6 separate regions of the Homo sapiens genome follow, and regions 1, 2, 3, 4 and 6 are each linked to region 5. The links are contacts of gene promoters, found by promoter capture Hi-C in human tissues and cell types (Jung and others, 2019). All regions are on one chromosome and are shown on one strand. Each heading gives the region's core, a stretch centred on a gene start or on the middle of the fragment in contact. The rest is flanking DNA. Distances are from core to core; before and after follow the strand shown.

What was found. Contacts are between HindIII fragments. The study calls those that stand out against the background at their distance.
Region 1: a fragment that was not itself captured here is called in contact with the fragment with the promoter of SYT1 in region 5 in 1 of the 25 tissues and cell types used here (mesenchymal stem cells).
Region 2: a contact is called between a fragment that was not itself captured here and the fragment with the promoter of SYT1 in region 5, in 3 of the 25 tissues and cell types used here (mesendoderm cells, spleen and thymus).
Region 3: a contact is called between a fragment that was not itself captured here and the fragment with the promoter of SYT1 in region 5, in 1 of the 25 tissues and cell types used here (dorsolateral prefrontal cortex).
Region 4: a contact is called between a fragment that was not itself captured here and the fragment with the promoter of SYT1 in region 5, in 4 of the 25 tissues and cell types used here (IMR-90 fibroblasts, heart left ventricle, lymphoblastoid cells and 1 more).
Region 6: a fragment that was not itself captured here is called in contact with the fragment with the promoter of SYT1 in region 5 in 2 of the 25 tissues and cell types used here (dorsolateral prefrontal cortex and hippocampus).

What each region holds. Positions count from the first base shown.
Region 1 is chr12:79,010,453-79,015,286 of GRCh38, forward strand. The region is part of intron 2 of SYT1 (synaptotagmin 1); the gene reads left to right. The region is part of intron 4 of LOC105369863 (a long non-coding RNA gene); the gene reads right to left. Among named protein-coding and RNA genes, the nearest start is that of SYT1, 150 kb to the left of the region's middle. The HindIII fragment of the contact is 4,299 bases long and covers 1-4,089 here.
Region 2 is chr12:78,686,947-78,692,101 of GRCh38, forward strand. No RefSeq gene overlaps it. Among named protein-coding and RNA genes, the nearest start is that of SYT1, 180 kb to the right of the region's middle. The HindIII fragment of the contact is 4,391 bases long and covers 1-3,616 here.
Region 3 is chr12:79,115,277-79,120,186 of GRCh38, forward strand. The region is part of intron 3 of SYT1 (synaptotagmin 1); the gene reads left to right. Among named protein-coding and RNA genes, the nearest start is that of SYT1, 250 kb to the left of the region's middle. The HindIII fragment of the contact is 3,375 bases long and covers 1,035-4,409 here.
Region 4 is chr12:78,703,837-78,708,621 of GRCh38, forward strand. No RefSeq gene overlaps it. Among named protein-coding and RNA genes, the nearest start is that of SYT1, 160 kb to the right of the region's middle. The HindIII fragment of the contact is 4,147 bases long and covers 193-4,339 here.
Region 5 is chr12:78,863,524-78,868,177 of GRCh38, forward strand. SYT1 (synaptotagmin 1) reads left to right here and starts at 1,251. Exons shown (of 11, transcript NM_005639.3): 1 at 1,251-1,586. RefSeq lists a silencer at 35-94. The HindIII fragment of the contact is 3,235 bases long and covers 1-1,615 here.
Region 6 is chr12:79,058,080-79,062,935 of GRCh38, forward strand. All of the region lies in intron 3 of SYT1 (synaptotagmin 1), which reads left to right. The region is part of intron 3 of LOC105369863 (a long non-coding RNA gene); the gene reads right to left. Among named protein-coding and RNA genes, the nearest start is that of SYT1, 200 kb to the left of the region's middle. The HindIII fragment of the contact is 3,298 bases long and covers 1-2,902 here.

The DNA.
Region 1 (4,834 bases), core at 690-3,189, 150 kb after region 5:
GTATTTCCTACTGCCTCCCTTGATGAAGACCGCACCTCTTTATATGAAAGTGGGGAGAGGAGGTATCTATATTTTATCCCCTCACTTATTAAATAAAGCCCACTACACTATTCCCTACTATATTTTTTAAATTAAACCTGGATTCCTGATTTAAAATTTCAATTCCTCCTATAATGCCTCCAAAACACCCAGATCTTCTGATCTTTTGATTCTCACTGATTATGCCTTTGTTCCTTCACTACAGACTCATAAAGTCCTGTCCTGCTATCAGTTTTCAAGTCATCCCTATGGAAGTTCAAAATTTTTTCTAGAGGTCATCCTAATCATTTCACCTTTCTATCTGTATTTTCATTATTCATTTTATGAAGACAATTTTCTTCTAAAGCTAGATCCTCTAATTGTACCCTTCATTTTATATTTACCTAATTCCTGAGCAATCTTGCTCCCATAAGAATGTTGTCGTTTTCCAAACCTATTTTATTTCCCCTCAAAGGGAAGGAAGGACAGAGGTGTCTTGGTCTAGAATTGTACCTGCAGAGATGGTGAGAAATAGCCAGATTTAGGTCATTATGCCAATCATTGTTGAGAAGTTCTTACAGAATTTGCGTTCTATTTCTTAAAAGAAATAATGGCTAAAAGGTTGCATTAGAATATAATATGAAACTTTACTCGAAATAATATAATGTCATTAGTGAAGAGGAAGTTAAGGAAGAGACCACAGTCTTCAAGTAATGGAAACATTTATTTAACATTTACTGCATATTTTTTCATGCAATAAGTATTTATTAATTGCTAGGTACTCTGCTAGATATTAAAGATTCTCTTGAGCATACAATAAACAATATCTCCTTAAGTTTACATACCAGCTTAGAAGAAGGATAATTAATCAGTTTATTACAAGGAAGTGTGATGAGTGACCAGATTGGGAAATTACAGAGAAATATGCAAATTTATAGTAGGGCATTCCATCTAGTCAAGAAGGAAATAACATTTCATCAGAGACCCTAAGAATAAATAAGAGTTAATCCTATCATAATATTAAGGAGAGAAAGTTGAAAAAAACTGTCCCTGACCTCTAAGAACTTACAACACAGGAATCTATATGCTTTCTGAAAGATCTTGCTAGAAATAGTTCAAATAAACTAGGGAAGAATTTTTAAAACAATAGCTGCCAATTTTGCTCTTAACATTTTCCAGAGATTTGTAAAAAAAAAAAAAAAAAAAACACCTGTGACCAATCACCATTTTAAACCTCCTGAATTAAAATTTCTGGGAGTAGATCCTGGGAATCTGCATTTTATAAGCTCCCTGGGTGTTTCATATATATATGAATAATTAGGAAACTTTGCCTAAAATATAAACATAGGTTTTCTTAAGAACCATCTGTGGGTGTTTTAGGCCTGGCATGGTGGCTCACGCCTGTAATCCCAGCACTTTGCGGGGCTGAGGCGGGTGAATCACCTTAGGTCAGGAGTTCAAGACCAGCCTGGCCAACATGGTGAAACCCCAACTATACTAAAAATACAAAAATTGGATGGGCATGGTGGTGTGCACCTGTAGTCCCAGCTACTCGGGAGGCTGAGGCAGGAGAATTGCTTGAATCCAGGAGGCGGGAGCAGTAGTGAGCCGAGATCAGCCCACTGCACTCCAGCCTGGGTGACAGAATGAGATTCTGTCTCAAAAAAAAAAAAAAAAAAGGGAGAGAATCATCTGTGGTGTATTATATCTGCATACTCTCAGGCTGTACCTGAGAACCTGGAATTTGTAGCGGTAAGAGGTCCAGACTCTATTTTTGGGAATCAGCACAGTCAGTGCTGGTTGAGGAGTAGACAGACCACACATGGTAACTGAGAACTCTGAAGTTTCACCACCATATTATCTATTACAGAAGACAACTGTGGACTAGACACTGATTTAAGTTTTAGAGGCAGATTGGATCCAATCACCTGGATGATATCTTACTTTTTGACCATACATAGCACAAACCATCTCTTACTCAAGCATAATTGAGCAGGTACTATTCTGGTATACAAAAGGCAAACACTTCTTTGTTCACAAAAATGTAAGTATATGTAGAGATTTCAATAAGTAAGGAGAGAATCACTTTTCCAATTCTATTATTTGTTATTGTGGTGCTTCTGGGATCTATGTGGTCACGTCACCATTATATAGCTCTTCCTTTCAAAAAGAGCTGAAGGGAAAATTTATTATAATATTTCCTGGTTCCTTGTGAAGTGTGTAGGCAAAAACAGCCAGCTGTCTACAAACAAGTGTTCAATGCTTCTGAAAACAGGAGAGTGCACCCTGTCGCTGCTCCCTGTGCCTCTTTCCGGACTGCCACTGCTTTGTAGTCAGAATGGCATTTTCCTTCTGTGGTTTCTCATTATGCTTTATGATGAGGTAATGTCCTTAATGTGGCTTGCTGTGCTTTCTGGGACGTACCCCAGCCCACCTCCAGATGCATCCACCCTCTTTCTTTGCTTCATTAACTGTGCCATGCTCCTTTCTACTACAAGGCCCCTCCTCCCATGCAGTCCCTTCTACCTGGAGGTCTGTGCCACCTCTGCTTGCTTCCACACCAGCCTAGCTAACACTCGTCTTTCACATGTGAGCTCAGGAGTCACTTACCAAAGAAGCCTACCTTGATTCCCCATCAAGGTCAGTTATTAAACACTATTTCTATCTTGTAGAGTGCACTTCTCTGTTTGTTTTTGTATTCTCTTTCATGAGTTTATTTGCTTAATATCACCTTAACTAGACTGAATGCAGGGATTGTGTGTTGGTGTGTGTGTGTGTGTTTACCATATTGCCTAAGCATAGTAGGTATTTCATAAGTATTTGTTGAAGAAGTGAATGAGGGTTTAAAACACTTTGAGAGCATCAGGTCTATGATTTCAGTTCACTGAGTGGGTTCATCAAATAATTGTTCAATATTTGCTATGTACTGAGTCCAGTAATGGGCACCAGGAACTCCAAGAGGGATTAACTGTTTATAAACTGTAACTACAACTTGCACACTGAATTTTAGCCAACTCTCTTACAAGTAGATGCTGTTGGAGCACCCATTTGTATAAGCGGTAGCCCTTTCTCACTAACTCATCTCCCCATCTTCTCTGCAAGCATCTGAAGCATATTTCACTATATTTCCTGCGTTTTTTCCTCTATAACACCTAGGAGGTCTTAATAAAAATATCCAATCCAGTCCAGTTATAGAAAACAAAGCAAAAACATCAGATAGGTTCTTCATTTACTATATAAAGCCACTTTTATTCTAGATAGTTATAGAATGTAAAGGCTAAGAGAAAACATTAGAAGGGTAAGCTTATGAAGGTTTTCTTCATGTAAGACCAAGATTCTATCATTATGTCCATTTTGTTAGAAAATAAGCCTTCAGGCCGGACGCCGTGGCTCACGCCTGTAATCCCAGCACTTTAGGAGGCCAAGGCGGGCAGATAATGAGATCAAGAGATTGAGACCCTCCTGGCCAACATGGTGAAACCCCGTCTCTATTAAAAATACAAAAATTAGCTGGGCATGGTGGTGGGCGCCTGTAGTCCCAGTACTCGGGATCATGAGGCAGGAGAATCGCTTGAACCCAGGAGGCAAGGGTTGCAGTGAGCTGAGATTGTGCCACTGCACTCCAGCCTGGCAACAGAGTGAGACTCTCTCCAAAAAAAAAAAAAAAAGAAAAAAAAAAAAAAGAAAGAAAAAGGAAAAGAAAATAAGCCTTGGGTATTTTTGACAACTTCTAATGAAAAACCAGTTCAAATATTTTCATCAGTAACAAGTCTCATAGTTAGTACAATTTATTTTTTCTGAAATTTAACCTGAAACCTATGTTCAGATATGATTCCCAGTCTTTTCAAATACTTTATACTATTTAGAATAATGTTTAGAATTCTTCCCTTTAACCATTCCATATCATGCCTATTTTAGTGCAAATATTTCTTCTCTTTGAAAATGCATTCTCAAAAGAAGACATTTATGCAGCCAAAATCACATGAAAAAATGCTCACCATCACTGGCCATCAGAGAAATGCAAATCAAAACCACAATGAGATACCATCTCACACCAGTTAGAATGGCAATCATTAAAAAGTCAGGAAACAACAGGTGCTGGAGAGGATGTGGAGAAATAGGAACACTTTTACACTGTTGGTGGGACTGTATACTAGTTCAACCATGTGGAAGTCAGTGTGGCGATTCCTCAGGGATCTAGAACTAGAAATACCATTTGACCCAGCCATCCTATTACTGGGTATATACCCAAAGGACTATAAATCATGCTGCTATAAAGACACATGCACACGTATGTTTATTGCGGCACTATTCACAATAGCAAAGACTTGGAACCAACCCAAATATCCAACAATGATAGACTGGATTAAGAAAATGTGGCACATATACACCATGGAATACTATGCAGCCATAAAAAATGATGAGTTCATGTCCTTTGTAGGGACATGGATGAAATTGGAAATCATCATTCTCAGTAAACTATCGCAAGGATAAAAAACCAAACACCGCATGTTCTCACTCATAGGTGGGAATTGAACAATGAGAACACATGGACACAGGAAGGGGAACATCACACTCTGGGGACTGTTGTAGGGTGGGGGGAGAGGGGAGGGATAGCATTAGGAGATATACCTAATGCTAAATGATGAGTTAATGGGTGCAGCACACCAGCATGGCACATGTATACATATGTAACTAACCTGCACATTGTGCACATGTACCCTAAAACTTAAAGTATAATAATAATAAAATAAAAAATAAAAAAAGAAAATGCATTCTAAAACTTTGATATTAAATGTAAGTTAAAAGTTTCAAA
Region 2 (5,155 bases), core at 171-2,670, 180 kb before region 5:
ACTTCAGACTTCAGTCAACTTGCCCCTGCCCCCGCCATGGCCCCATTATCTTCATGTTGCTAGAATTTATAATACAGTGAACAATGTATAGTCAATCAATAGCTTATGTTATTTTAATATAAATTTTTGGTAAATACCACAGGAACTGCCTCTTTTTTTCCTTCAAAAATTTACTTATAACCACTGCTAATCAGAGCTTATATTCAGGGCAATAGAATCTATGCTTCTGAATTGTTAATTCTCAAGCTTAGCCCAAGTAAACTCTCTACTTACGTTAATTTTTGACTCAGCATCTTCCTTTTAGGTTGACATATCTGATGTAGCTGATAGGACTCAGAGTGACTCCCTCTGACCACCTGGTACTTCTCTCTGTCTTTTTTTTTTTTTTTCAGACAGAGTTTCACTCTTGTCACCCAGGCTGGAGTGCAGTGGCACTGATCTTCAGCTCACTGCAACCCCCGCTTCCCAGGTTCAAGCAAGTCTCCTGCCTCAGCCTCCTGAGTAGCTGGGATTACAGGCATGTGCCACCACACCTGGCTAATTATATATTTTTAGTAGAGACAGGGTTTCACATGCTGGCCAGGTTGGTCTCTAACTCCTTACCTCAGGTGATCTGCCCGCCTTGGCCTCCCAAAGTGCTGGGATTACAGGTGTGAGCCACCGCACCTGGCCTGGTACTTCTCTTGAAAGTGGCACTTGGAACAGCACAAACTCTTCATCCGTAGAAATTTCACTGGGTATTTCAGGTGAGTTCTCCTGAATTCAGACCTCCAAATCTTTGACTGGAGATCTAGACTGTATTTGAGCTGCTTTCAAACCCTCTCTTTTTTTAAAAAAGTGAGAATTTTGGTCTCTTCTTTAGACAGGATTTCAGGTAAAGAGCTCTGCAGAGAACCACCTTTTATTCTGCCTCTGTCTCACAGCAGACGTTTAGGTCAAAGGTTTGGCAAGTAGGCACCGGTGGTTTCATTTTACATAGCAAGCTTTTAAGATTGCAGCTGTTTTCTATTGCTTGAAACTTTGGATTTAGCTTTTCATTTGTGACCAACTCCTCTTAGTTTCTAACTGAAAAGTGTGCCCCCATTTGCTCTTCTGCATGAGTATAATATGAGATACCTTGAGCACTCTGCTACCATCTCGCAGTTAGAGGCAGTCCAAGATACATCACACCTCAACCCTAAATACGTTCCTGGCCTCAATCGCTTTTGAAAAGCTTCCGAATTATGGAAAATCAAACTTCAAAATCTAAACACTTTAAAAAAAATCAGATGAATTCATGTATAACATTATGGGACATCCTTTTGTAAATATCTAGGAAAATGAAGCCACCTAACCCTGAATAGTCATTAGAATCAGTATTCAAAATATAGATTCTTTGAAATGTCTGAAATACTTTATTTGCACACACATTTAGAAAAACTGGTTTTAGAACCAAACTGAATGAGAGACCTAGTTTATATTTGTCCTGCCTAAAATCTGATAAGAGAAAGCTAATTTTCGGCTCTACTTCTAATCTCTTTCTGCTTTTCCTCTTTTGGATCCTGTTTCTGGGAATTTTTTCTTTTGACTAAAACCCCCTTTTAAATGTTTTTTGCCCCTCTGTTTGCTTACTATTGAAACCGCCTTTGCAAAATTATGACTGAGACAGTGAAAGACATCTAACTTAACCGACTTCATCTTGCTTCTAACCTCCAAGCTGTCCTGGTTCATTCCTGGGCATAGGCTGAACTAACTTTGGGAGAAATTTAGTTTATAGTTTGAACAAAGACAGTAACATCCCTTTCCCAAAGCAGACCTCCTTCTTGTCTCAGGACTAGATTGCCTCTGTAGGACTAACATTAGCCACAAGATTAGAAATTATGGTTTAGGAGCCCTGCAGCTGGAGGCTATGTGATTCTGACCATCCCTAAACTGCTACTAAGATCAGTGCTTGAGATATTTTGCAGACTCTGCACTTGATGGATCAGCTGGCACCACCCAAATCAATAAACTGCCTCATCTGATCTTGTGGCCCCCACCCAGGAACTAACTCAGCACAAGAAGACAGCTTTGACTCCCTGTGATTTCATCCCTGGCTAATCAGCACTCCTGGCTCACTGACTTCCCCAACCCACCAAGTTATCCTTAAAAACTCTGCTCCCAGAATGCTCAGGGAGACTGATTTGAGTAATAATAAAACTCTGGTCTCCCACACAGTTGGCTCTGCTTGAATTATTCTTTCCCTATTGCAGTTCCTCTGTCTGGATGAATCGTTTCTCTCTCGGCAATGGGCAAGGTGAACCCCTTGGGCGGTTACACTATCTTGTTGGCATGATTTTTGCTGAAGAATGTTAAACTAAATTGATGTTTTTTGTTTGTCTTTGAGATGGAGTTTTGCTCTTGTTGCCCAGGCTGGAGTGCAATGGTGCGATCTCAGCTCACTGTAACCTCCACCTCCCAGGTTCAAGCAATTCTCCCACCTCAAACTCCCTACTAGTCGGGATTACAGGCATGAGCCACCATACACAGCTAATTTTTGTATTTTTAGTACAAACAGGCATTCACCATGTTGGCCAGGCTGGTCTCAAACTCCTGACCTTAGTTAATCCTCCACCCCCCACTTGGCCTCCCAAAGTGCTGGGATTATAGGTGTGAGCCACCATTCCCAGCCTGTATTGATGCTTTAGAAAGCTTCAAATCTCCCAAAATTAGTTTCTCTAAGATTTGTTCTTCTATTTCCTTCCACTTCTGCTCCTCCTTCCTTTTGCCATAATGATACCACATGAAGAAATTTAGAGGAGACAACTAATGACTTTGAGATCCCTTGAAAAATATAGAAAAAAGCACCACTCACCCTGCCTACTTTGTGGGGTTTTCTGTTTTCCTTGTAAAGTCTGAAGAGTTCTGGGCAGTTTCTTCTGTTTTGAAAAAACTCTGCTCTATTTTGCACTATATTACCTGATCTCCTTGGTTTTGGGTGGTAGCAGGGATTACTTTGTATTGTGAGTGATAACTTGACTTTTTTGTGTGCAATGGCTGACAAGTTACCTGTGAAAGTTGCACTTTTTAAAATGGCTGACAGCAGTTGCAATGAATGGATGTAACTGCAGGGGGGCTACCTACATCTTTGTGCACTTAGATAAGAAAGACACTGCTTAAACATTTAGAGAAATGTCTTCCTCTACTCATTAAAGCACTCCACTCTGATGTCAGTCATCTAATAAAGAAACAAACTAAGTTGAAAAGATCACCTATCCAACTAGATCAGTCTCCAAAACATGACTTTCAGGTATTTAGCTGATTATTTTGAAACTTTTTGTAAAGAAATTCACATCTGTAAAGGAAATCTCCATTTGTAATGGCATTTCCCTGCACCCAAGCCATTAGAAACTTTTTTTTGTCTGTATTTTTTTTTTTTTTTTGAGATAGGGTCTTGCTATGTTGCCCAGCCTGGTCTTGAACTCCTGGGCTCAAGCAATCCTCCCACCTTGGCCTCTCAAAGTGCTGGGATTACAGGCATCAACCATCATGCATAGCAAGCCGTTAGAAACTTACAATGGGAAAGGCATTGGCTTTAAATTTACATACCAAACCTTACCTCAGTTTAAGCTACTTTTCCTCACAATCTTGTCTTGGCTGGTTATTTCTGTTTCCACAAACAATGGTGTTTAGATCTAAGTTCTATGCCTTTGGAATGCTAATTTTCACCTGAGTCACATCTTTGAAAATGAAAATTTAGGGTTGCCTAGCTAACAATTTTTTAGAGTAATGGCACAGGTAAACAATAAATTGATAATCTAAAGAAGGAAAGAAAATTATTTGAAAATTGACAAATGAAGAATCTTATATAGCTACAAGATTTGCTTCTGTCTGTGTTCCTATGTCTGTATGTTTATATTGGTCATGTATGTAATATTTCACTACCAAAATATATGAAAGAACTCTAATTAATCGGCTTTAAGAAAAAGTGCTTGAATCAAGTATTTTATCAGAAAAATAGGAACTGATTCAAATGTCTTTTAGTTCACATGACTGGTAAGTATTTGGTAAATAAAACTAGTTTGTTGGTTTAAGGAAAGCAGCCATCTCTTCTACCAGCAAAAATACCCATGTATTTTAACTTGAGGGTTTTACAGGCTGTAGAAACGATGAACAAATAAATAACTTGAGTTGATAGCTAGCTTTTTAAAATAAGCTACTCAAGCATAATTATTAAGAATGAATAAATTGGCTAGGCATGGTAGCTCATGCCTGTAATCCCAGCACTTTGGGAGGCTGAGGTGGGCAGATCACCTGAGGTCAGGAGTTCGAGACCAGCCTGGCCAACATGGCAAAACCCCGTCTCTACTAAAAGTACAAAAATTAGCCAGGCATGATGGCAGGTGCCTGTAATCCCAGCTACTCAGGAGGCTGAGGCAGGAGAATCACTTTAACCTGGGAGGCGGAGGTTGCAGTGAGCTGAGATTGTGCCACTGCACTCCAGTCTGGGCGACAGAGCGAGACTCCGTCTCAAAAAAATTAAAAAAAATTAAAAAAAATAATAAATAAATAAATAAATTATGTTAATGTAAATGGGATAAAAGCTTAACATTAACTATTCACACTTTCAAAAATCTTTTTACATAACTTAAAGTTATGTTAAATTAAGTTTAAAAAGCCATAAAATGGCTGAGTGTGGTGGCTCACACCTATAATCCCAGCACTTTCAGAGGCTGAGGTGGGTGGATCATCTGAGGTCAGAAGTTTGTGACCAGCCTGGCCAACATGGTGAAACCCTAACTCTACTAAAAATACAAAAATTAGCTGGGGTTTGGTGGCACGTGCTTGTGATTCTAGCTACTCAGGAAGGCTGAGGCAGGAGAATCGCATGAACCCAAGAGGCAGCAGTTGCGGTGAGCTGAGATCACACCACTGCACTCCAGCCTGGGCAACAGAGCTAGACTCTGTCTCAAAAAAAAAAAAAAAAAGTCATGAAATGCCTGAGTCTATTTCTATGGTATAGAAAATCTAAATATATTTAGATATTTTAATAAACAAAAATTGTGAAAATGTCTTTCTAGAAATTATGAAATGATTTCATCTACAAATACTGATATAAAACAGTTCAAAATTACCTACTTTTGGGTTTTCCCTGGAAGATAGGATTACTAAGAGTTAAAATCGTAGTTAACATGTG
Region 3 (4,910 bases), core at 1,472-3,971, 250 kb after region 5:
CTATCTAAAGAGAAGATTCAACAATTATTCTTGTTAGCTAGAGGGTTCAATCACACTTACATAGTGAGAAATATTTTTCCTATATGATACATTTCTTAAATGTTTCCTCATGTTCATATGCAGCTAAATTCTCAAAATTCACTTCTACCACCTCAACCCAAGTGAATGGCATCTGAGCAATACATAAACAACAAATTTTACCCTTATGAACTTAGGAAAAACCTTTCATTTATTTGCCACAATATTTTCATTTTCATCTGAAAGACAGCACTACCTAGACAAATTTTTAACCCCCTTAAGTGAAATATCAAAAATAGTGTTTTAAGAGCAGGAGGTAACCTTGCCTCTGCACAAAAACATCTTGTTCTTTCCACAGAAACCATAAAGTAAGCACAGCTTTCACCACTGATATTGTAGAATATTAAGTAATTTTTTTAAATTATAATTACTAATTTTTGTTGGGAATCAGGGCAATGCCAGATATCCTTTGTAAAATTTTAACACAGTCAACTGTTCCTTTATTGCTCAGCATGCCATCCAGGCTCCATTCCAGGGCATGCCCTTCCACAGTTTAGGGTTGCTTTGAATATTTCTACAGGATTTTTCAGACATTAGCCTGTCAATCAAATATGCAGTAAGTTCTCATAAAATTTCTCACTTCCCCACACCCTGAAAGCTATAATGAGCAAACAGAGTAGATTCTAATGATGTGAACAAGATAGCATACAACCTTTGAACTTAGATATTTGTTTGATACCTGGTTCTGTCACTAACTAGCTGGATGACCTTGGAATTATCATTTGTCTTCTCTAAATTTCAGGTACCTTGTCATTAAAATGGGAATCATGATGGTTGCCTCATAGGTTAGAGTAGGATTAGTTGAGATAATTAATGGAAAACAAATAATAGGTGGTAAAGAAAACTGGCCCTCAGCCCATGTTTGTAGTTACTATGGCTGATATTTTTGTTGTTCTTAGTACTACTATGTCTATTGGGAGTGCCAGAGGATGATGGCCCAAAAAGCCTAACGAAGACATTTAGGATTGGTATTAGTGTTCAGTAGGAGAAGTGCTTGGGGTTTTACACTGGCAGGGATGTACACAATATTCAATGGAGGAAAAGATAGGTGAAAATTAGGAAGGCAAAGTATTTCCTGCACGTGTTGGTGAGGTGTTGACTTAGGATCCACACAAATCAAGCAAAACACTCTCTTATTTGTGTCTTATTTCATAAGTGAGGAACTCACAGCATAGGGTATTAATATAACATGCCCAACGTGGGTGAACTAAGGATTCAAACTTCAGATTTCAAAGTCCAAAGTGAATGCTTTGTTCACTTTTACCAGGCTTGCCCTCTGCCATTTACAAGAGCAGTCTTTCCCATATTCTTCCCTAAGCAGACAACAATTTAGCCCTTACCTATATTGAATTCTCATAGTATGCTATACTCACTTTATTATAGGATAACTATTTGCTGTATTCTGTCACTTTCTGCTAAATTGTGAGCTCTGGGAGGTCAAGGAGAATTTTCCATTCAGCTACATATCTCAGAGCCTACACCAAAATCCTGAGTTTCACCTCTGAAGGCCTGAGTAGGCAAGTTGCTCCTCTCCCCCTCCAGTGAGGAGGGCAAGTAAGATTCTATCTGGGCTCCTCTGAAATCCACGAGCAGCTCTCCAAATAGAGAAGCACTGATGTAGAGATTGTTGGGTAATAAAATTAATGAGGAAGCCATGGTACAAAATTTTAACACCTTTCTTTTCTGAACTAAAGTTAAATTCTTGAGTGTAGGCGTTCCTTCTTGAAAGTCCTGTTACTGGAGAGATTAATCTACCAGCAATATACAAAGACAGATTAGTGAGAGATGGTGGTCCCAATAAAATCATTTATAGGCTAATTACATTCCTTCTTCACTCAGTTTTACTACAATTAAAATGTAAAAGGTCTGTTTACATTTTTGGTGCCTCAATATGTATTGAGAAATACAATATTGTTAAGCAGGTTTTCACTTTGCATTTCTCTGCTTTAATATAATGAAGTCATTATCCATGCGGACCCACAATGCTCCGTGTTAAATTCGCCAACTGCTGTTCTGTACATTCCCTCAGCCAATTTATTTCAATTTCAGAAGGAGCAACCAACTCCACAGTGGATGACTGCTGACTGCAGTTCCACACCATCACTCTTCAAGAGTAAACTCAAATCAAGGAAAAAGCTTCCACATGTGAGCATGGGTGTGCTCAATCTCCTGTTAGCTGCAGCCACAGTTTCAGGCCTGATAGACCCCAGCTTCTGCCCATGGGGTGCAGAGCTACAGACAGCTCACCTGCCTCTACCACAGGACAGATCACAGGACAGGCTGTGTGTGTGTGTGTGTGTATTACATCATATATATATATATATATATATATATATATATATATATATATATATATATATAAAATAAATAGGTTGCATACAGAAGATTTTCAAACCAATCATTAACACATGTAAGAGCTAGGTCATATTATTTATGGCACTGTTGGTGGTAGCCAGATATCATAAATGCAGTGTCATAAATACTTTTGTATGAAATTATATAATTCTTAGGGTAACACCTTAAAACTCATAATTTGCAGAGTTCCAGGGTTAGAGCCTAAATGTTCAGAAATTTTCCACAAATGGCTATCATCAATTTAAAATAGCTATGTTTACCAAATAAATTTGTACTGAGCTAGACACGTGGATTAGCAAATCTGTAGCACAGAGCCGAGAAAGGAACCCCTTGGTCCTTTTGACCTCCCTGCTCTTGTCTCTTATTTTCTCTGTTTGCTGATTCCATCAAATAATTTGATCTTTTTAGAGCTGATCTAGCCTGTTGTTTGACAAGACCCTTTTTTCTTGAACTACATTATCACTTAACCCATTACCTTGTACTTGTGAACAGCATATTAGAATGAATCATTTTGCCATTTAACATGTGTGGTTAAAAATTATTGGTTATGTATTGAACTCCACTAAAACTATGATTTTAATATAGAAGCTGATGTTTCAAGAAATCAGCAGTCTCTACTGGGTTAGGTTTTTCAAAGTTTGGGTTGTGCATGATCATAAGGTTAAACATTTTTCAAGTGTAACATTAAGAACAAATTTTTCATGTAATTTGGATAGATAAGTCATTTCATTCAAGTCTATATACAATTTTCTTGTGCTAATCTTGATGTAAAAACTAATGGTAGACTGTCTTTTTCTGCTTTTGTTGTTTAAAATGACAGTAATCAAGTTTACCATCTCCACCATTTAATAAAGCAAACAGCACTAGTATAGAAATTAGAAAGGAAATAAAAGGAGCATTTAGTGAATGTCAGTGTTGATCTAGTCAATCATTGTACATGTGTTAGCTCCTCTAGTTTCCACAAAGCCAAAATGAAGTCGTTATTATCTGAGTTTTACAGGTGTTAAGAAATTCACCAAATGTGCCCTGGTAGCTCTTTAAATGTTGTGTTCCACAGGCTCCCTATCCTGAGCACTCTAATTTTCTATGGTACATAATTTACCTGGGTGATCTCATCTCTTTACTTGGTTTCAATTGCTACTTATATACTCTGATTACTCTCAAATCCATTATTTTCCACTGTTACCTTTCTTCTCAACTTCAGATCCAGATATCCAACTGCCTACTAAACATCTCTTCCTTGTCCCTAGACATATAATCCTTCACTTACCCACTTTTGAATTCCCTATTCTCTATGTTTCCTGTGGTTGCTGGTACCATCCAGCCAAAGTAGGAAAGGGCTGGTCGTTTTCTTCTTCTCCATTACCCCTAATATATTCCTACAAATTTTATCTCCTCTATAATGTACAAAAGCAACTAGAGAATCTGTGCCTGTCCTCTCCACTCTCACTAACTTCTTATTGTGTCTATCATCATATCCTGCCTGAACTTTTAACAGGTCCTCCTGCCTTCAGTTTTAGCCTCCTGAACTTTGTCCTCCATACTACTGCTGGAGAAGTCAATAGTAAACAATGCAAGTATGCCATTTTGCTTTTTAAAAACCTTTAATGGTTCTCCATTTCCTGGAGAAAACAGGCCAAGCTTCCTAACAAGTCCCTCCTTGATCTGGTTCACGCTTTCTTCTATAAAACTTTACCGCTCTTCAGTTTTTTGACCCCTGACTTTTTTCTCCAGACACACAACTCCTTACATATTTTCTCACATAAGGTGTTTTTTTTTTAGTCATAACTTTTCTTCAGCTGAGAAGGTCCTTCTTATCTACCCTTTCACTTTTTCTATCTAACTCCTCCTCACCCTTTAAGATTCAGTAAATGTCACTATCACCAGAAATCCTTTTCTGACCCAGTCTTACAAAAATTTGTAAGGGTCTTATATTTTGGAATTTGTTAACTAAATGTCTAGAGAGTTGACGTGACAGCAAGAAAGATATTCTTGTAAATGAACTCAAGAAACCCAGGACTCACTGAAACAAAGAGGAACATTTCAAATCATTTTGGAAGATTCCTTTACTTCCTGAATTAATTCATAAGTTGTTTTTTTTTTCTAAGCTAAATTACTTAAATAGCTTTATTCTCCCCTTGAGTAAGGACAGAAGCTAATTAGGCATTCTCCAAGGCACAGATGGGAAAAATATCATCTCCCTTCCTCTTTTCTTAATCCCCAGTATAGCCAGATGTAGTGAAGGTCCCAGCTGCCTCCTAAAGACCTGCTGTGGAACAACAGGATCCAAGAGACTGAGGGAGCCAATCAAGCTTAACATTTGCATGCGAAGGCCTCCCAGAAGCAAGGAATTCAGCTCCCTGGCTCCCTATCTGTTCTGCTGCTTGTGGGCAATAGCACCACACAAAGAAATGGGCCTGTGCTTAGGAAAAAATATATATATATTTACCCAAGTCAGAATGTTCGTATGCGGCGAT
Region 4 (4,785 bases), core at 1,016-3,515, 160 kb before region 5:
ATTCATCTATTTTTCAATAAAAGCTAATGGTTCAATAGTCCCAATGCACCCAGCTAATCTAGAAAGAAGTTGATGCTTGGGAACAGGGATTCAATCAAGATTCATGCATAAGTGCTATTACTACATATAAAATATACTTACACCTACTTGATACATGACTAATTTAAGAACATAACCAACTGACTTTAGCCTTGGCAACATTGCATAGACATTTGAAAATGTGATGCTACTGAATATACCAGTTTGGGTAATATAGCAAATGTTTATATCTAATTAGAAAATAAATAAATAAATTTCTGACCTGGAAAGCAGCCGTGCATTCCCAAGGTCCTTTAAAAGATTGAAAATATTTAAGTGATGCCATTTAAAAATAACTCAGTGACTGCTGTTTACTATTCAGTATTCAGATATTCTAATAAAATGAAATAAGCTTCCCTATGAAAGGTATTTTTGCTGAACATTCCCAAGGGTAAGAGCAATTTCCTTTTTAGATGAGTAATGTGTTAGTTAAAGGCACGACTATGCTACGCATATCAAGATCTGTAAGCAGATAGGAATTCATGAGCAGAGAAAGAAAGCAAGTGAGAAATCAGGAGCATAAAATTCTGAGACAATTAAAGTTCTTAAATAGGTAAGAAACAGAATAGTTTCTGCATGATTAACTGCATGACTTGGGGATAGCACTGGGTAATCAGTGCAAAAATAAAAAAGTCTCCTAAAATACCTTCTCTTTACTTAATTATATACTCTTTCTTTAGATGGTTAATTTTAGTTAGCACAGAGAAATGACAATGTTAAATTGCTCACAATTGCATAAAGATATAGACATTTAAAGTGTGATTTTGATTTACCAAATACTCCTAATATAAAAGTCACATGCTATTCTTTCCATCATTTCAGCCACAATAATATCAACTTTCAATTTTATTTGGGATTTTGTTCTGCATCTAAAGGCAAAAAGTTAATTTTTAAAAGGGGTGCAATGTACTCATGATGTGTTAAATGAAACTATGTTCATGTATATTTATGTGGGGTTTATGTAAAGCACATGCATTTAATTGATATTTATTCAGTTGGCATCTTACTAACAAGTGTTTGAGTATTCTCTGGCATTTGAGTATGATTATATATATTTAATTTTTAATGGTCTACTTATGCTGAAAATATGTTAATATTGGTCTAAGCAAGTAGAAAGTGTACCATGGTGAGTTATTTCTTCTTGATATAATAGATATTATATTAAACCCTAAGAGTTGTATTACATATTGAACACTCATTGTGAAAGCTCTCTACTAGGACTTAAATTTGATCATGTGACTCTATAATCTCCTACACCTCTTCTTATTCTAATACTGTATAACTATGTGTTTGTAGTTTTGACTTATAAAGGATAGAAGTAGGCCTAGTATCTTAACCCAAGGAAGTGCTGTGCAAAAGTTTTCAGATTACCAGATTCATCTCTAGATGGCTGTGACCTTTGAGAGATTCAGAAGCATCAGCAACAATTGACAGGTTTTTTTTATTATTTAAGGTTAAAATGCATTGCTCATTGCCTGTAAAATTTAAAGAGTGAACTTTGTATTCTGTAAAAGTTTTGTTCATCTGTAAACCAGAGTGGTCTGCAAAATGGTAGCTATTTGGCTTGGAAGCATATCTTTTTATTTGTGAATCCTAGAATGAAACTAAACAACCTCACAACAGTGGACTAATAATATTTAATGTTTATTGACCACTAAATATATGCCAAGAGTTCTTCCAAATGCTCTAATATATGAACCTATGTAATCCTCACAACAATTATTTGAGACAGGTATTACAATTATTGTTATACCCATTTTACAGATGATACACATGTGAACAATTAACTTGCACAAGGTATAGTAAGTAGCAGAGTGAGAATTCAATGCAGACATTCTGCCTCCAAATTCCACATTTGTAATTAATATACTGTAGTGTTTCTATGTAATAAATGTTCAATTGAACCATGTCATCTATAGTTCCACATCACTGGTTTTGTTTTTTTTTTTTTTAAATCACCAAATTAGATAACATGGAGCATCCTATTGGTCTGTAACAGCTGAGTCCTGCTTGCAAAGGAGGTCATAGGGACCCAAGTTTTCAAGGTCTTTTCCTTCCAGACCTTTACTTATTAATGTATTCATTTAAATATTAGGCAGTGTCTTAATCTGCTTGGGCCACTATTTAAAAAAGGAGCCATAGACTAGGTGGCTTAAACAGCAGATACTTACTTTCTCACAGTTCTGAAGGCAGGGAGTCTGAAATCAAGGAACCAACATGGTCAAGTTTTGGTCCCTCTTCCTGGCTCACAGGTATTGCCTTATCACTGTGTCCTTACGTGGCTGAGAGAGAAATCTGTGTTGTTTCTTCCTCTTCTTATGAGGGTGCTAATCCCATCATGCAGATTCTATTCTTATGAGCTCATTGAAACCTAATGACATCTCCAAAGGTCCACTTTCTAATACCATTACATTGGAGGTTAGAGATTCAAGTCATAAATTTAAACGGTCCCCAACATGGAGCCTGTAACAGCCAGCCACTGTTCTAGGCACTGGGGATGCAGTAGTGAACAAAGGAGACAAAAATGCCTTGCCCACATGGAACTTAGAGTCTCATGGGGAAAATAGTAAGATAAACATGTAAAATAAATAGACTATTTGACGTTAGTAAGTGCTATAGGAGAAAAAAGAGGAAAGGAATGCTAGGAAATATAACGTGAAATTTGGATAGAATGGTCGAGAAAGCCTTTCTGAGAATCTTGGTTGACTCAATCTGAATAGGCTATGCTGGGAGAAGGCAATTGCAAAAGACTTGAGGGGAGTTTAGGGGGTCTGTTCAAGACAACGAAGCAGGGTGGCTCAACTGGTGTGAATTAGACAGAAAGTGTAAGGGATTTGGTTAGAGAAGTAAAAGAAAGGCCCAGACCATGAAGGTCATTACAATTCATAATATGAACCTCAGATTTTATTCTGAGTAAAACAGAAGCTATTAAAGGATTTTGAGCAGAGGAGTGGCATGATTTGGACATTCATTTGAACGGAATAATTCTGGCTGCTCTGCTGAAAAGAAACTGAAGATAGGAACAAGAGCTGAAGCACAGAGACCAGTTAGGAGGCTAACATGTCAAATCATTAAGAGATTAGGCAAATGGGTGCTAATCAAGCCTCATATGAATTGACCAAATGTTTTATTTGCTGCAGAGAGAAAATGTGAATATGATTTTAATGCTAATTTGGGAAGACTTCCAAGAAAGTTGGCATAGTGCACAATGCATTAATCTCTCTCAAACCCTTTGACTGAACAAAAACAACCTTGAATTGGATTTAAACTACATATACAATGAAACTAAACTGTCACAGTAAAGTCCATACTTAACATTCTGAAAGTAGTCTGCTAGAAAATATAAAATGAAGACATAAATGAAGTATTCTGTGATTGCAATAAATATTACTTGTAATACTAAATATGAAAAAGAGTTTAAAAGGTGGATGATAACATTCTGAAGAGCACTACTAAATTCTCTAACCTGCAGATCAATAGTGAGAAATGTTTGTGGACACATTTGCATTCTGTAGAACAGGATGGATAGTGAGCAAGAAACCTCTTGACCATACAAAATAACTTTTATTCCTAATGTAAGAGAAAAGGGAGCAGATTGTAGCAATAGCCGGATCAGAGGAGAGACAAGGAAAAAAAGGTGGAAACATTAGGGGTCAACAAAGATATCCTGTGTGTAAATTCAATAGCAACGTTCTGTGGGCCACAGATATTCATATTGGATGTAACTTTTCACAAGGTTGGTATTCATTTTTGGAAGCCTAGATATGGAGCTCCCATACTCACCTCACACCTATTTGACCAGAAATGCCAGTAGGAGATGGGGTTCAATGAACCTGTAGGAAAAATCAGCAAAATGTTGGCTGCATACTGCCCTTTCCCTTAGTGCCCACTCCTCCAAGCAGCTGAATAAGCTTTAGCAATTGAACAAAGGTTAAAGTCATCAACAACACGGAGCATTCCAATTTAAGATATTGAGTGATACGATGGAAAGAAGGAAAGTCAAAGAGAATTTCTGCACAGTGTTTGGAAGCAATTATTGGCCTTAGTGAAAGTGTCTATACTGAAGTCAAGATTAATTGCAGTATTTAATTGATACAAACGTTTTTCAAGATAATGAAAGAAGATAAAGTTGTACGCAAAGCATAGATAAGTCAGCTTTTTGAATTTTAGAAAAGGATGGCTTACTCTGTCCAGCATATTAAAGATATCAAAGATAAGATAAAAATATCAAATAAATTATCAATTGGAAAAGGAGCTACTACAACTAATAAAACTGATAATTTCAAAAACATATTGAAAAGAGCAAAAACATACTATTAGTGTTTTTTCGATGGCATACCAGACAAATTTGAAGAGTACAAATACAACACTGAGAAAAAGGGAAAGAAATTAATGTTCTCAATGCAAAAACTTGATTGGAAAAATTTGACTGGACGAAGTTAAACAAGTAAGGAAGATTTTATTCAAGGCTATTGCAATAACAAAGAAAAAACAGAAGGCAATGTGACCGTGACTCTGCTAAAAAAGGAGCAAGAGAATTTTTAAGCTCTGGAGTACGGAGATCATAGTCTATATGTATGTGCTAATTGGCCTCACCCAAAGGAAAAGTAAGCTTTTTCATATCTTCATGACAGGCGATAATTACACAACTTGGGGAAAGACTAGCTAGTCTCCTACCCTCCTACGAAGATTGGGAGATAGTGGTGC
Region 5 (4,654 bases), core at 1-2,500:
GATAATGGACGGGCCCCTCTCCCAGCTGGGCTCCGCTCCCGCCCCTAGCCTGGCGCGCGGTCCCTTCCCCCACCCGCTGAGCCTTCCTGTTCGGTATTTCGGTATTACCAAGCTATAAATTGCCTGAGAGCTTAGAGACAATCAGGTCACCACCGCCCTCACAAGAGAAAAGCTTCTTACTTCCGAGCAGAACGGTTCAGCTGGGAAGAGAGGAAGCAGGGAGAGAATCTATGCTTTAGTCGTCACTGCTCTGGCAAGGGGTCGAGAGAGATGGGGGAGGGAGGTGGCAAAAAATAAAAATGAAAAAATAAAAAAGCATCTCCAACAATGTTGCACTTGACCCAAGTGTACAAACTTATTGGTCGCTGCAATGGAAACTCCCAGTGCACTCTCCACGGCCTGGCAGCCGCCGCTGATGGGTGGAGTCGCGCTCCCGGCCCCACCTATGGGACGGAGCTGCTTCTCCCGCATCTCGGCTCCACCGCACCCTTCGCGGGAAGTCCCCAGGCTTCCAGCAAAGCTCAGCTTATCCCGCCCCCGCTTCCAACCCGGAACCCCAGAAGAACAGCATGATGAGCCTCCGGCAGCCAGGTGGGCCACCTCCCCGCGGCTCAGTTTGAGGACACTTGTGCGGAACCCTTTCACATCCCCACCCTACCCAGCTTTCACAACTCCGCCGGGTTAAATGGCCAAAGACAAACTTCTACCTCTCCTGTCCCCGGTCCCAGCTTTTCAAAAACCCACAGCTGGCGAACCCACACACATCGAAACTCCTAGGTCGCTGTTGCAGTCTGGGCATGCTCAGTATCAGGGTAGGTTTTGATTGAGAGTAAAAAAAAAAAAAAAAAAGCTTTGTATTATGCTCTCTTTCTCCTGTGCATACTGCTTGCTGAACAGCTTGTGGGGCATTCCTGAGTCTACCTAGAGGTTTTATCAGACGCCCTTGATTGTGTCTCCTTGGGATCTGTTCCCCTCTTACTTCACCCCCTCCCCCAACCCGCCTCCACCCCGCTTCCCAGGTCCCTGTCCGCTGTGGGGATGGAGAGACACTAACAGAACTGGGATGGGCGATGTTGGCTGAACGGATCCACCTATTATTAGTGCGCGGGGATTGGCTCCTTGGCGCAGCGTACCCGAGGTGGAGCCAATCAGGATGCTGGGGCTCGGAGATGATGGGCGGCCGCCTCCTCACTGGAGGGATTCCTGGAGAAGCTGCAGTGTGGGGATGCTCTAGACCGAGTACTGCCCCCAGTGTCTTTCCACCTCCTCCTGCAGCAGCGGCAGCGGCAGCAGCAGTTAGCAGCGGCAACTTGAGGCTGCACCCCGGGCAAGTCCCCAGGGTGGTGCTCAGCCGAGAGGGGGGCTTGGCGCCCCGAAGGGGTGTGTGTAGGGTGGGGGCGACCACGTGGGACCAGCTGGTGGCCCTGGAAAACCTCCCACACACCCACACCCACACACCCCTTTTGTGTTGCAGGCTGCCCCTCCAAGAGCGGAGGCAGCGAGAGTACGCGTGTGCCTCGCGCCGGTCCACGCGGGGAGAGCACTGGGGACCGAGACCCGGCACCACCTCCCGGTCCGCCCTCCAGGTAAGGAAGCGGGACTGGCGGCGCGGCCACCTCGGCGGTGCCTATCTGCTCGAATCCATCCCAAAGATTTTCTTCTCGATACACTTGGGTTTTAGTGGTGGGAGTCTGAGACCTAGGGAGGGATCCCCGGGTGGCCTATTGTGAGAAATATGAGACTACATGTGCATCTCCTGGAAAAGCACTTTGCACAGCGCCCGTGATTTAGAGCCTGGAGTTGATGTTGGGCATCCCCCATCTTCTTGCTTCCTCTTTCCTTCTCTTGTTCTCTCTCCTCCGTCCCCCACCCCCAATCTCAATCTTTTCTCTCTTTCTCTCCCACACCTCCCCTCTCGCCCTCCTCCCACCCTAAGCACGCACAGCGTTTCTTTCTCCTCCTGGAGAGGATTGCCTTTCTTAGAGGAAAGAGGGGGAGTGAAGAAAGGAGAAAGATTTCTTTCTGTTGGGGAGAGGGATATGGGGGGGGGGGGGAACGTAAACAAGATAGAATACAAGCTCTGCGAAAATCAGAGCACATAAAGCAATTAAACTGAATAAGGGGAGTAGACAACCAGTCCAGCTTGGGCTGTCAGAGAGAGGAAGCGTCAAGTTTGACTTGATTTCCTCCTTGCAAGAGTCTATGTCTCTCACTTGATTCGTTCAAATGGAACAAAAATAAACCGACAATCCAACCCACTTTCAACTGCTTAATTGCTTTTGCTTTTGAGTGCCAACCATCTGACTTTTCCTGTTTCCATCTGTCCTGTGGGGCTAACAATTTGGTATTGCACATCAGTGTTAATATCTGAACTTTGAAAGCTTTCTTGAGTAACAAAAAAAAAAAAACAATTAAAATAGATTATTACTTTCCTGAGGTTTCTTGGTATGGCCTGTTGTTGGGGGATCAAAAAATGTAAAGTTTCAAAACATTTGCAAGGGACAACAATTTTATAGGGAGGCTTGGATTTCTACTTTGAGAAAGCTAATCTTCTAGTTAGCTTTGTGTACATGTTGATATTCACTTTCTCCAGTATTAACCCTTTCGTGAAATAAAGCAACTGTTTAACTTTTGTATGGAAGCTACATTTGTGTAGAATTTTCACTTTATTCTACCTTTGTACTATTTGCATTTTATTGTCTGGATACCAAACTTATGCCTGGCTTTATTTTCTTTTAATAGGACAATATTTAATGGATGTAAACATGATGTTTATACAATTTCAGCACTCCCTTTAGAAGGCACATGGAGGCTCAGTTGGACAAGAATCCTCCTGTACTGGAACTAAGTTTAGAAAGTAATGCTAGAAAGATACCCTAAATTTTAAAAATCCTGAAGGGGAAAACATTTTTGTAACGTCTTGTTAAAAGAAAGAAAAATATATCAAAACACCAACATGCCCCTGGCTGCCTGCATAATAGGTCAAGTAAATGGTACTTGTTGGACAGAGCCTTTACAGCAGCTTCAGCAGTCTCTAATTCCATCATTGGGGATATAAGCTTTCTTTTCTTATTATTCTTCAGGGACAGCTAAGCGATAGTACTGTCAGATGGAAGGAGGTATAGAGAAATGCCTCGTTTGATGTAATAGGAAAGCATTCCAAGTGGGTCTTACCTGAACACAGAGAAATCCACAGATGTTAGTATACAAAACACTTCTTTTTATTTATCAGGGGAAATGCAGAGTCTTACTTTTTTTTGTCTAGAACTCCACTTGATATAAGAAAAGAGAATCTTCTATCTTAACTGTGTCTGACCTTCCACACTAATTTTGTATCTCAGAGAGTATTTTTTCACTACGTACGTTTAATATATAAGTTTACACACCAACTTAGAGAAGAGCTGAATTCATTTGCCATCAGTGTAATGTGTACTATTTTCCAAACCATTTTGCATTTGAGGCAATGATCTCTCCCTAAATAGAATTACCAAGTCACGAAAAACGATTTTCTTTCTAGGGCTTTGACATTTAAATGAAAAAAAAAAAAAAATAGTGTCTCTGTTGAAAGCTAACTCTGGTTTTTAGAGGTGCCACCTTTTGGTTACAAGGACAAAGGGACAATCACTTAATTACCTCACATGTATGTACAACTGAATTAACAAGTTTAGACATGAAAAGATGTACAAAAAGGAAGCCAGCTGCCTTCATGTGAGAAAATTAAGATTTTGTTTTCTCATTTCTCCACTGTCTTAGGAATATGTGAAAATTTAGGCTTGGTTTGTGACATTTATTTTCATGACTCTTTACAAATGTTAATTATAGAAATAACATCTAAAAATATGGATATGAGTAGTTTTTCAAATACTTCTAAAAAATTCAATATCTGTGTATTGGAAATCAGAACTAATTCCAATATATAGTGAGTGGATTGGGGAGAGACCTTACATGATATATTATAGGAAATTCTTACTTTGTTATCCCACAAAATAGTCTAATGTCACAATTTCATACAATCTTTGTTTTTTCTCCCTTTGACAGGATATTTTAGTAAATCTCATTAATGTTTCAGAGTAAATATGATAATTATGCCTCGAGGTATTTTTGTCAGAATTGAAGACTGCTAATATATAGGGAAAATCCTAAAATACTAATTTCACAAAAATACCACATGATTGAGAGTTGTTGCTGAGTAGTTTTGAACTTCATTTCATAATGGAGAATATTAGTTATTTCATCTGGTCAAATTATCAGATAGTTCTAATCAACAAATATGAAAATGAATAACATTGTATTTATACGATTTGCATATTAGACTGAAATTGAAACTAAAAAATAGTATTAATTATATGCTTGTATTAATTATATGCAAGATGAGCTGGAAGATTAATAAAATAAAATGTAGAATATGTTAGAAATCTGAAAGTTAATTTGAACTTCCTGTTAGCCTAATAACACCATTAACATAATATCAGTTCATCACTTTTGATGTCAGTATATTAAGTTGATTTTGAGAAAATTCCCAAAACAGTTAGAGCCATCTAATCTTAAAGAACACACACTTAATGCAGACAATTATACGAGCCTGAAATATAGTTCTTATGATTTCCAGTTTGTGCAACAACCAAGAAGAGCTATCACTAATTCCAAATTGAAA
Region 6 (4,856 bases), core at 4-2,503, 190 kb after region 5:
GTGTGTTTTTTTGAAAGGCAAAGCCAGATTTGTCATTAAATGAGACAGCTAAAAGAATGGAAGCAATACAAGCAGTCCCCAACTTATGAATGAGTTATATAACAAAATTCCTTTTAAGATGTTTTCTTTCCATTTTATAAGATGGATATTTATCGACAGTGGCCACACAAAAAAACCTGTGAAAACCCACAGCTTATGCTAAATGACAATATTTTTAGCATTGGTTATGGTGACTGTGTGAGTGAGAGGGACACAAGGAAAAACATGTTTCTCCATTTTTCCTGATACTCAGTTGACCCTGCCCAATATGTGAAAAATAACTAAAGCCAGCTTTTCACACAGCCTTCTCTCTCTTTGTCACCTTTGTTTTCTTCCTGAGGTAATGCTGTTTCCCAACTGATATTCTCTAGCTGCCTTTTCTTTAAAGTGGTTTTGGTTTCCAATTTTCTAACCCAACTTATCTCTTGATCAAAATGACTCAGTACAGCTGGTATGGGGAAATGTCTAAGAAAAAATAATTGGGCCAAAGTGTCCACACCAGCCCTGCATCTTGCATCCCCTCTGCTTCTCACTTCCCGACCCCCACACCACAATTGTTAATTTAAATAAACAAATAACTTAAGGAATTTCTGGCAGTGTGGGGTCCTGGAGTGATACATGTATAGATAGTATGGGTGAAGATATTTGGAGACAGGAACTGGGATAGGTGGGAATTCAGCCTTAAATGCAGCATCCCCTGCACTGCTCTTGAAGTGATACATTTTCTTCAATACTATACTTAGGAGCCTATAGTTTCTTTATTTTAATACATACACATTTTCCCAGTGGGTCTTGCAAAGCTTGTGATAGAAGATTTGTTAATGAGGTATGTATTAGTCTGTTCTCACACTGCTAATAAAGACATACCCAAGACTGGGTAATTTATAAAGGAAAGAGGTTTAATTGACTCACAGTTCCACATAGCTGGGGAGGCCTCACAATCATGCCAGAAGGTGAATGGGGGTCAAAGGCACATCTTACATGGCAGCAGGCAAGGGAGCACGTGCAGAGGAACTCCTTTTTATAAAACCATCAGATCTCATGAGACTTATTCACTGTCACGAGAACAGCATGGGAAAGACGCCCCCATAATTCAATGACCTCCCATTGGGTCTCTCCCACAACAGGTGGGAATTATGGGAGCTACAATTCAAGATGAAATTTGGGTGGGGACACAACCAAACCATATCAAGATGTAATAAGCTAGAGATAACTGCTTCATTTTTTCTAAAATGTAAAAGTAAATGTAAAATACATGATTATATAATATTGTTTACCTATATTTTAATTTTAATTCTTTTCAATACCTCAAATGTAAAACCATCCACTCATAAAGTAAATTTTAAGAGTTACCTCTATATGAAAGAAATCGTTATTTGTGTTAGTTATAACATTCCTTATACCTGGCCACCCAAAACAAGAAAATAATCAAGTTTTCAATTTTCAATTTTTTTATCATAACTCTGGATATAAATATAACTAAAATGTTTTCAGTAATAACTCCATGCACAATGATCAAACAAATGCTGTACTTGTTGTGGGCTGGCATCAACAATTATGAAAGTGGCTTGGTAAGGCCAGGCCAGACCTTTGTAACCAGTTATACCAGGCTACTGTTAGACAGCCCCAGATAGCCCATCCCTCTGCCTCAGGGCTTATGGAAACAGTGGATGTTGGTAACTGAACACTTACTCCCTGCTGCATGCTTCCCATGTCATTTCATTCCTGTGAAGTGCATTTTCATATCTATATTTCATAAATGAGGAGACAGATTCTGAAAGGCAAACCAACTTGCTCAAAATAACTAGCTTATATATTTTGAGCCAGATGCAGACTAAAGTCTGTGTAATGCTAAAACCTGTGCTCCTAGACATTATGCAAACTGTTTCATGGGCTTACACTGAAATAATATCTGATGAATTTCTCTTTGCATAAGAGAGTGAGCTCCACAAGTGTGGTAGGCAGAGCATCCTCCTATCTCAGAACCTGACACAGCGAAGGTGCTCAATGCTGGTTGAACCAAAGTGACAACTTGTTTATCCAGCTCTATCATAGCAGTAACTTTACTAAAAGTTCTCTGTTCCCTTACTTTTTTTCAGAAAAGTTATCCACGTCCCCAAACAAAACCTACGTCCCTGTAACAAAAAGCTTTTATTTTCAAGAGCTGTATCTTTAGCCATTTTTTTAATTGTGGTAAAATATATATAACATCAAATTTACCATTTTAACCATTTGAAAGTATACAGCTCAGTGGTATTAAGTACATTCACACTGTTGTTTGATCATCAGCATCAGCCACCCTCAGAATTTTTTCATCTTCCCAAAGTGAAACTCCGTACATATTAAACAGCAACTCCCCATTCCCCCTCCCTGCAGCCCCTGGCCATCACTATTTTACCTTCAGTCTTGATGAAACTGACTATTCTAACTACGTCATATAAGTGGAATTAAACAGTATTTTTCCTTTTGTAACTAGGTTATTTTGTATATTGTCAAGGTTTATCCTTATTGTAGCATGTGTCAAAATTTTCTTCCTAAGGCTGAATAATATTCCATTGTATGTATATATCACATTTTGTTTATCCATTTATCTGATGATTTATTGAGTAATGGAGTTGTCCAAAATGAAATCTTTTTGCCAATTCTTTGATGGAAAGATAAGATGCAAATATAGAAATGCAATGAGTTCATGATTTTTAGAACATCTCTCTTTTTATATCATAAGCCCTAAAATTAATCATGGAAAACTAGTTCAGTTTAGGCAATCAGCAAAAAAAAATAGATGGGCTTAAGATAATTTAGGATTTATGAGTTATAAATATGCCACATTTTAACTACTCAGGCTGGAATTAGCCTGTCTTCATTTGATTATCTGTTTTGATACATTGACTGTTCTTCAGAAGATTCGTGAAGTTAGGGTATTTAAAAATTGCCATTTCTCTAAAATTAAATAGAATAATAGGGAAGGGAGCATTGATTCTAAATAAGAATGCAAATTTATAGCCATCAAGTTTTCTACTACTACCATTTAACTTCTAATCAGCGTATTATGGAATATTCTTGTTCAAGAATTGGTGTCTGAACCTTAAGTCAATAAGAAGGAAATAATCTATACAGTTTTTAGTATTTTCAGCAGTTTTCCTTATGTGCTAACCAATAATTTTTTAGCTGGCATTTATCAATGCCAGAGACACGCTCATATACACATATTATATATCCTATAATACACAGCATTATCCTCTAATCCTCACACTGAAAAGTAGACATCATCACCATTTTACAAATGAGGAAGGAGAGGATCAGAAAGGTTAAGTGACTTTCTCAGTTAATAACTGGCAGAGTTGGCATTTGAGAACAGGACTTCTAGATACAAGGCTGCTGCTCTGTCACCTCACACTTCCCCTACATGTTGTGAATGGTGCTGGGCCACAAAAATGAATGGGACAGTCTCCACCCTGGAAAAATTTATATTATACTGGAATGGATGGGCATTTTTAACTAATTAAAATATAATAGTATGAAGATTAGAAGTTCTTTGGATGCCAGCAGGTAGACATAGCTTAACAGTGCCTGAAAAGCTTTGCAAAGGAAAGGGCATTCCATCTTGGCCTTACATGACTTCCTTCCATGCTGGTTTTCCATTTTAATTAGTAAAGAATTTAGTTAAGCACATGGGATGATTGGTTAAAGTTGAAGCTGTAATGAGATCATGAAGGTTAAATTAAAGTGTTTGAAGTTTATCTCTTAGCAGTGGAAAACAAATGTTTTTATGTTTTCATTCTTGCTACTTTTTTCTGCTTAATCTACCATTCTGTAGAAGCCTTAGTAATAGAACAAGCGAAGGAGAAGAAAAAGATAATTTTTTTAAAAAAGAATCCTTTTATGAGCTTATGCTAGCTTATTTTAATGTTCTTGCATTATAGGCATGATTAAAGATTTTAAGTGTATGACTTTGCATTTTGATCAGAGTTATCATCTCCCTCAAGGCTGCTCAATAACATGATCCATAATGACATTTTGTTGTTATTTTCTGACCTGTTGGGTGAGGCACTAAAGCCAGCTTCCCTAGGTCTATGTAGCTTTAAGTTATTGCAGTGAGGAAATTTCACAGTGCTGTCATGCTTTTGGTTAATACAGTTTTGTGTTTTGCTTGGGAAAGACAATTCTGAGAGTGTCCTATTGATTCAGATGTTTTCTGACAGTAGCTGCCTACCAGGTTTGCCTTCATTGACTTTTCAATGTTCTGTTACAAATAACTTGCATGTACAATTTGATATTGAAAAGCCTAGAAGGTTCCCCACTGTGCATGAAGTTAGAGCAGCCCTGAGCCATGGGGTGGTGAGTGCTTATTATCATTCTGAAAATCATCCACTTGTCCTAGGCTGTTGCCATAAAAGGGTTGTGTTTTCTCTGTTATTCTTTTTTGTTCTCCTGCTTCTTTTATTCTTTCAGACATTCCAATGCACTTCTTATTCTTTAAAAGTTTAAACTTCATTCTTAAAAATTCCCCATGGTGACTGAAACTTGAAATATAAAGTCACAGGTGTTTTCTGATATTTTTGAACACACGGAATGTGAGATGGCTTGGATTGGAAGTACTTATTTTGTTAGTACAATTTAAAAGAATCACTTCTGTGAGATTTTCCTAAAATGATGAATGGTTAGAAATGTTCTTTTATAATCATAATAAAAATAACTACCATTTATCGAATGCCTACCATCTGCCAAGATCTGTGCTTAGCAACTTTCATGCTATCTATAATATTGACAACTCTGTAAGGTAGGTATCATTAAACCATTTACAGATAAAGAAACAA